Regions from separate parts of the Homo sapiens genome. Here regions 1 and 3 are each linked to region 2. The links are contacts of gene promoters, found by promoter capture Hi-C in blood cells and fetal thymus (Javierre and others, 2016). All regions are on one chromosome and are shown on one strand. Each heading gives the region's core, a stretch centred on a gene start or on the middle of the fragment in contact. The rest is flanking DNA. Distances are from core to core; before and after follow the strand shown.

What was found. Contacts are between HindIII fragments. The CHiCAGO score rates a contact against its expected background, and 5 or more counts as called.
Region 1: a contact is called between a fragment that was not itself captured here and the fragment with the promoter of RAB11A in region 2, in 5 of 17 cell types (megakaryocytes, total CD8 T cells, naive B cells and 2 more). The highest score is 9.4, in megakaryocytes.
Region 3: a fragment that was not itself captured here is called in contact with the fragment with the promoter of RAB11A in region 2 in 5 of 17 cell types (total B cells, naive B cells, megakaryocytes and 2 more); the score reaches 11.4 in total B cells.

Annotation. Positions count from the first base shown.
Region 1 is chr15:65,723,561-65,726,260 of GRCh38, forward strand. The region is part of intron 11 of DENND4A (DENN domain containing 4A); the gene reads right to left. Among named protein-coding and RNA genes, the nearest start is that of MIR4511, 5.6 kb to the left of the region's middle. The HindIII fragment of the contact is 737 bases long and covers 1,056-1,792 here.
Region 2 is chr15:65,868,095-65,870,810 of GRCh38, forward strand. It overlaps RAB11A (RAB11A, member RAS oncogene family), which reads left to right and starts at 1,397. Exons shown (of 5, transcript NM_004663.5): 1 at 1,397-1,531. The coding sequence starts at 1,492. It overlaps TRQ-CTG1-4 (tRNA-Gln (anticodon CTG) 1-4), which reads right to left and starts at 1,039; the gene lies at 968-1,039. RefSeq lists an enhancer at 1,211-1,270. The HindIII fragment of the contact is 828 bases long and covers 1,247-2,074 here.
Region 3 is chr15:65,707,485-65,710,184 of GRCh38, forward strand. All of the region lies in intron 14 of DENND4A (DENN domain containing 4A), which reads right to left. Among named protein-coding and RNA genes, the nearest start is that of MIR4511, 10 kb to the right of the region's middle. The HindIII fragment of the contact is 5,576 bases long and covers 1-2,700 here.

The DNA of each region.
Region 1 (2,700 bases), core at 174-2,673, 140 kb before region 2:
TAAAGCAGTTTCCCCCTTATCTGTAGAGGATACATTCCGAGACCCCCAGTGGATGCCTGAAATCACAGACAGTTCAGAACCCCATATTTACTATGTTTTTTCCCAAGCATATATACCTATGATAAAGTTCAATTTATAAATTAGGCACAGTAAGGGATCGATAACAATAATTTATAATAAAATAGAATTATAACAATATACTTTAATAAACGTTATGTGAACGTGGGCTCTCTCTCTCAAAATAACTTATTGTACTGTACTCATGTACTTTCAGACTATAGTTGGCCACAGATAACTGAAACCATGGAAAACCAGACTGTGGGTAAAGGAGGAACTATTGTATCTTTGTTTCTGGGACAGGCTCCTATAATCTCCTTTATTATAGCAATTACAACACAGTTGGTCTCTAAACCATACATGGGGTAGGAGTAGAAAAGAGCATGGTGATAAAGCATTGCAAAGCATTTGGACTTAAAGATAGCTTTAATGACTCCACTTTAAAAAAAAAAACCAGAGAGACAACGTCTCACTCTGTCACCAAGGGTGGAGTGCAGTGGCATGATCACGGCTCACTGCAGTCTTAACTCCCAGGCTCAAGTGGTCCTCCCAAGCAGGCCTCAGCCTCCCAAGCAGCTGAGACTACAGGCGCGCACCCCTACAGCCTGCTAATTTTTATTTTGTAGAGATGAGGTCTTGCTTCGTTGCCCAGGCTGGTCTTGAACTCCACATCTTAAGGAATCCTCCTGGCCTCTGCCTCTCAAAGTGTTAGGATTACAGGCAAAAGGCACTGTGACCAGCTGACTCTACTTTTTTTTGAATCGTTTTTTTTTTTTTTTATTTCAAAAGCAATGAATATTCATTTTAGAAAACTTGAAAAATGTATAGAAAAAGAAAAGAAAAGTAAAACACTCATATTTTAACCACCACAGAACAACATAGCACAGGTGTGTAGTGGAACTTGCTGAACCTTTTTATATTCCCTAAACTTCCTACAGAACAAAAAAGGGCAAATATCACTTTGAAAAGTAAACAAAGAAAAAAGAGTGGGATAAGAAAGCTTAAGCTGAACAAAAATGACTGTCTTGGAATTTGTCCCCTCTATCTTTCCACAAATGAGAATAAAAATAAAGATAGGGCAAAGTCAAACTGCAGATGTCCTGCTGTGAAGGTGTGATTACATTTACAATGTGACCAACAGGATCCTGTGTTATAGTAAGAACGCAACATAGAAACACTTTTTAAAATTATTTTCTTGATGAAACTCAGTAACACAGCTTTCCCACTGTGTCTTACCATTCACTGCATAGTGCCTGTCTTGCTAGACTTAATTATGAGTGTCTTAAGAGAAAGAAGAATATGTGGTTTGCTATTTTATTCCCAGTGCCTAGCAAAAAAAGGGCACTCGGGATATGTTTGTGGCGTAAATGAATGAACAACATCTTGGTATCATCTGATCACATCTAATTACTGTTACTTACTGCTATAATTTCTGCCTCTTTCCTTTGATATCTTCCCTCTAAAACTTGGCTGGGTAAGGGAATTTTTTGAAGTACTTGAGTTTGGTCTATGATCATCTTCTTATAAAAAAGATCATCTTATGAGTAAATGTATATTTACTCATGATGACTTCCACTTACAAGATTACTACATTATTTTATGACATACACATATTATATAGTTACCCAATAATTAGTGGTAGAAGCATTAGTTTTGGAGTCAAACAGTAATGGCTTTAAAATGCAGTTCTGACAACATAAGCTATATGCCCTTTGATAAATCGCTTAAAAATCTAAGCTTTGGTTTCCTTGTCAGAAGGGTTAATAAGAACTACCTCGGCTGGGCGCGGTGGCTCACGCCTGTAATCCCAGCACTTTGGGAGGCCGAGGCGGGCAGATCATGAGGTCAGGAGATGGAGACCATCCTGGCTAATGCGGTGAAACCCCGTCTCTACTAAAAAATTCAAAAAATTAGCCAGGTATGGTGGCGGGCACCTGTGGTCCCAGCTACTCGGGAGGCTGAGGCAGGAGAATGGCAAGAACCTGGGAGGTGGAGCTTGCAGTGAGCTGAGATCACGCCACCACACTCCAGCCTGGGCAACAGAGTGAGACTCTGTCTCAAAAAATAAAAATAAAAAAAATAAAAAAAAGAACCACCTCACAAAGTATGGAGAATAACATGAGATAACTTAGGCTACACATGTAGCTTTACACTTGGTACATACATATTAATTTCTTTCCCTTTCTTCAGAAATTTCTTCATATTTAAAAATAGTCTGTATCATATATACTTAAGACAGGGAAGGGGAAAAGAAACCAAAAATTCCATACTTGGGATTTGTTTTTCTTTCAAACTTCAGGCTGGGGCTTCAGAAATTCTAATTGAAGGAAAGTAGAAAGCTGTCAGTTCGCTAGTCTAGTCCTCCACCGGTTTGGGAGGGTGGTAATGGCAAGAATTCATGAGCACAAACAACTTATCTTTCTTTGATTCTTTAACTCATTAGTGATCAAAGCAGAAAGAAAAGAGCTCAGACCTCAGCAACTTCAAGAAAGAAAGAAAAAATAGTAAGTAGGAAGACAAAATTCTTTTTCTAATTTTTAAATTTTTTGTATAAATGGGGTCTCTTCTGGCCTCAAGTGATCCTCCTGCCTCAGCCTCCCAAAGTGTGGAGATTACAGGTATGAGTCAAGACACCTAGCTGAG
Region 2 (2,716 bases), core at 147-2,646:
CACCTTGTTGGCCAGGCTGGTCTTGAACTCTTGACCTCAGGTGATCCACCCACCTTGGCCTCCCAAAGTGCTGGAATTAAGGCCTGAGCCACCGTGCCCAGCCCATTTTCTACTTTTAAGGACCTTATGACAACACTGGGCCCACCCAACTAATCCAGGATAATATCCCTAATTTAATGTCAGCTGATAAGCAACCTTAATTTCATCTGTAACCTCAATTCCCCTTTGCCATGTAACCTAACCTATTCAGTCTCCAGGAATTGGGAAGTGGACATCATTGGCAGGGGGCATTATTCTGCTTGTTATAGGCATACTTGCCCACAAGTCTAAATCGAGAGTTTGCATATAGGAGGTAGGAGGTGTGACAATAATTGGATAAAGGCTTTTCTGGAATGACAAAATTCTCTTCAAATACAGGGAGGCCCTGCGACATGATATCTGGCAAATCACTTGAGTCTTAGTATCCAAACTTCCGCTAAAATGGAAATTACCATCCTTTGCTTGGCATGTTAAATGAAATACTTATGTAAACGGACTTAGATTAGAGGCCTACAAATAGGACTCAAGTTCTTGATGAATCTTGATGAGGAGGGTGGGCGAAGTACTCTAAATGAAAATGAGATAGATTGCGAGATTTCCGGAGAGGAGTGAGTGACAAGCGCCTACCCGTGCATGAAGCTGGAGGTAGAAAATTCCAGCAAAAGGAATTTTCAAGTTTCACTGAAGCTTTTGAATCAAGGCTTGAAAGCCCAGGGTTAAAAAAAAGGCAGTGAAGAAGCTCATTAAGACAACCCCCCGCCAGGTAGCAGATAGCACCTGAAATGCAGTGGGAAATTTGTGAGGTCTTCATAGGCAAGGATTAAATTTTACATCTCCATCTTAAGATGTGTCATAGTTGTTCAATTACTTAGTGACCAAAAAAGTGAATTAAAGATGTTGTCAAGATTAAAAAAACAAAAACCAATGCAGGTTCCACCGAGATTTGAACTCGGATCGCTGGATTCAGAGTCCAGAGTGCTAACCATTACACCATGGAACCGCCACGCATGTGTAGCTGCCTTCGGCTGTCTAATCCTCAGAGAACCCCGCCCCCATCCACAAACCCACCACTCACAGGCGGTCCCGCCTGGTTCCAGCGAGCCGCTTCCGGCACGGTAGCTCGAGAAATGAGCAAGCGGCCACTAAGACTATGGTAGCTAGGAGTTCCAGGACTCAGTTTCCCCTTTGAGCCTCCTTTAGCGACTAAAGCTTGAAGCCCCACGCATCTCGACTCTCGCGCACACCGCCCTTGTTGGGCTCAGGGGCGGGGCGCCGCCCCCGGAAGTACTTCCCCTTAAAGGCTGGGGCCTGCCGGAAATGGCGCAGCGGCAGGGAGGGGCTCTTCACCCAGTCCGGCAGTTGAAGCTCGGCGCTCGGGTTACCCCTGCAGCGACGCCCCCTGGTCCCACAGATACCACTGCTGCTCCCGCCCTTTCGCTCCTCGGCCGCGCAATGGGCACCCGCGACGACGAGTACGACTACCTCTTTAAAGGTGAGGCCATGGGCTCTCGCACTCTACACAGTCCTCGTTCGGGGACCCGGGCCACTCCCGGTGGACCCTCGTGCCGGCCACCCCTGCACTGATATAGGCCTCCCTCAGCCCTTCCTTTTTGTGCGGTTCCGTCTCCTACCCAGCTCAGCCTCTTCTCCCCCGCTCAGACAGGGGTCCCCATCACATGCCGCTCTCTGAGCGACCTCTCCATAGGCCTTCGCTGGCCTCAGAGCCCCTCCCTGCGTGTCCTTCCCCTGGCGGACTGCCTTCTCCCACATCGTCGAATTCCTTTCCCCGGGTTCTACGGCCCCGCCGCTCCTCCCACCATCTCTCTTTTCGGGTGTAGCGCCCCCTCCCCCTCGGCGTACACCCTTCCCAGCTCGCGTCCTCTCCCGAAGCCCCTCTGACGGGTTCTTCGCTTCCCTCTTGGCCTTGCCTTCGGTGCAGACTCCCATTACAGGTCTTTTTCTTATCTGCCCTCTTTCCCCCCTCGAGCGAGCGTCTCTTCTGTATCTCCCCTCCACTTGGACGGCCGCCCCTCTAAGCTTCTCCCATCCCGGGTCCAGGACCCCGTAAAATCTGAGCGGGCCAAGGGCCTCCGCCCCCACCCTCCGCCCCGCGGTTCTCGCGGTCCTTAACCTTCTCTGACCGCTCCCTCTCCCACTCCCCATTTGGCAACTCTCTCTACCTTCCCTCCCCAAATCGTGTTTAGAGCTCCCTTGTCTCCGTTGCGACCTGGGTGGTGGGAGGGAGGGTAAGAGGGATCGCCCATCACCCACTCGCGCACTTGTCGCAGTGACCCGGCAGGCTGACATTACTTCCCACCTAGCCTTTTCTTTTCTTGCCCTCCCTACTCAGTGGCACCCAACCCGGGATAACTCTTTACTCGGTTCGCGAGATGAGGTTGCGGATGGGTGGTGGCTGTTATCCTTGCCAGACCTGAAGGCCTGGTTCCTGAGCAGGAAAGGTTGTGCGCTGCACAAATACTAGCTTGCTTTATCTCTATGAACTGGTTGCTTCCTGCTGCAACGCTGGGAGGATCCAACAGGAAGGGAAGAGCCCTAGTTAGCCACATACCTTTCCCAAAAGGTTGGGGGTGGGAGGAAGTTGTGTGCTCTTTTGGTTACATTAAATATTTATTATAAGATACGGAAACATGTAGTGCCCTTGGACAGAACATATTGG
Region 3 (2,700 bases), core at 11-2,510, 160 kb before region 2:
TCTTCTTATATAAATTATTGATTATAATTTCACAGCATTATATGCTATACTCTCTTGGATTAAATAATGTTTTTAATGGTATATCCATACAGTGAACTAGACAAAAATTAGGACACGATTCAGAATTATAATAATGAGAAAAACATTTACAAAATAACAATAAATGAGAAAAGAATCAGACTACTAAATCGTATACATATTATGATTTTTTTTTTTTTTTGAGACAGAGTCTTGCTCTGTCACCTAGGCTGGAGTGCATGGTGCAATTTTGGCTCACCAGCACCACCGCCTCCCAGGTTCAAGCAATTCTCATGCCAAAGCCTCCCAAGTAGCTGGGACTACAAGTGCGTGCCACCACACCCAGCTAATTTTTATATTTTTAGTAGTGACAGGGTTTTACCATGTTGGCCAGGCTGGTCAGGAGCTCCTGACCTTAGGTGATCCGCCTGCCTTGGCCTCCCAAAGTGCTGGGATTACAGGCATGAGCCACAGTACCCAGCCTATATATTATGATTCTTAATGTTTTTTTTGAGACAGGGTCTTGCTCTGTTGCCCAGGCTAAAATGCCATGATGCAATCACAGCTTGCTGCAACCTCAAACTCCTAGGCTCAAGTGATCCTCCTGCCTTAGTCTCTCAAGTAGCTGGGACTACAGGCACATGCCACCACACCCAGCTAATTTTTCTTTCTTTCTTTTTTTTTGGTAGAGATGGGGTCTTGCTATGTTGCCCAGACTGGTCTGGAACTCCTGGCCTCAAAGCAATCCTTCTGCCTCAGCCTCCCAAAAATGTTGAGATTACAGGAATGAGCCACCATGCTCAGCAAATGTTTATTTATTTAATAGTTCTCACTCTTTTTTTTAGCAGCTTCTCCCTCTCCATATTGGTGCCTACTTTCCATTCTCTAGCCATATTGTTCTCATAGAAAAGTGTGGGGTCCAGGACAACTGCTCTAGTTTTCGGTAAAGTCTATACAAATATTAAAATTTTGCACTGTAGACTCAATAGCTTGGTAAAAGATACTTCCTTCTACTTATATACCAATAAAATCTCATTTTAACATTATAAAAATAGCCGTGCAATAAATCCTACATTTATCAGTTGGACATCTCTGTCTTTTGGAAAGCATGGTGACATCTGTCTCTATCGAGAGAAAAAGAAATCCAACACCCACAGCAGGATAAAATTAAAATAATTTTCATATTCTCTTCATATTTTCCCACAAGACATTAATATGCTCAGAAAACACTGGAAAGGGATTCTTGGGAAACCAAGAAAAAATCTTACCAGACTATTTGTTACACAAAACTGCCTTTAGTTAAGCACCATCCCACAGGAACAGATTGTAAGGATTTAAAATATAATCATATGAAGAACAAGAACACATGGTTCTTAAATTAGTCATAAATGAAACTCACATAATTCTCATATATTGTTTTTCTTATTTCTATTCAGTATTACCCGCTCCAGCTTTTTAAAGTCGGTCAAGTGTTTTGTTTGGATATGCTAAGATCAAAAGAGTTAATATACCATGTGAGAATAAGTGAATAACAGTATCACACGTCTAATTTTTGTTCAATAGTAGTCATGAACCATATGAGACAGTTAACGTATATTTAATGTTATTTATTTTCTATAGCTAAACTGCCAGAGGTAAGAGGATTTGTTCACTTAAAAACTTAAGCTCAAAGTTACTCAACTAAGGAATAACCCTCACAAAAATTATTCTTTTTAAAGTGTTACTGATATTCAGAAAACATATGCAGATGAATAGTAAGCACTGATTTTTTGTGAGTCACTTACTATGGTATCAAAACATGAAAGGTAGTAACAGCATTGTATAATTATTTACATTTCAGAGAGTTCTGGCTAATAACACCACCAGGGATACAATTAACCTCTGCTCTAACTACATATGAACTTTATTAAGATACATTTTGAGCCGGGCACGGCGGCTCATGCCTGTAATCCCAGCACTTTGGGAGGTCGAGATGGGCGGATCACCTGAGGTCGGGAGTTTGAGACCAACCTGACCAACATGGAGAAACTAAAAACACAAAATTAGCCAGGTGTGGTGGCACACGCCTGTAATCCCAGCTACTCGGGAAGCTAAGGCAGGAGAACTGCTTGAACCCAGGAGACGGAGGTTGCGGTGAGCCAAGATCATGCCATTGCACTCCAGCCTGGGCAACAAGAGCAAAAACTCCATCTCAAAAAAAAAAAAAAAAAAAAAAAAATATATATATATATATATATATAATCTCGTGACACTTTATTTTCTCTAATAAGTCTCTTGAATTATAACAAAGCAAATACAAGTAATTATGTTTTAATGCATTAATTTTCAGTTTTGATTTTCTGAGTAGTCATTAAAATCTTTAAGTATAATGTTAATTCATATATATAAGTGATCTTTTGTTGGATCTAGATTTTGAATAGATAAATAACATTTTAGGAAAATAGTCTACCTAGAAACAATGATTATACATTTAATAGAATTTTCTTTTTCGAGACTTCTCAGAATTCATAATCTTTAAGCAATGATTCCAGTCACCTTCTGCATGGACTACCATCACATAAACAACAGGTGGCCTACAGAAAATCCTAGACAACATAATGTATTAACCATGAGTACTAAGATATGCTCCTTAGGACGTAATACCCTAGTTAGCAAAATTACAAATCTTGTATATCTTAGATA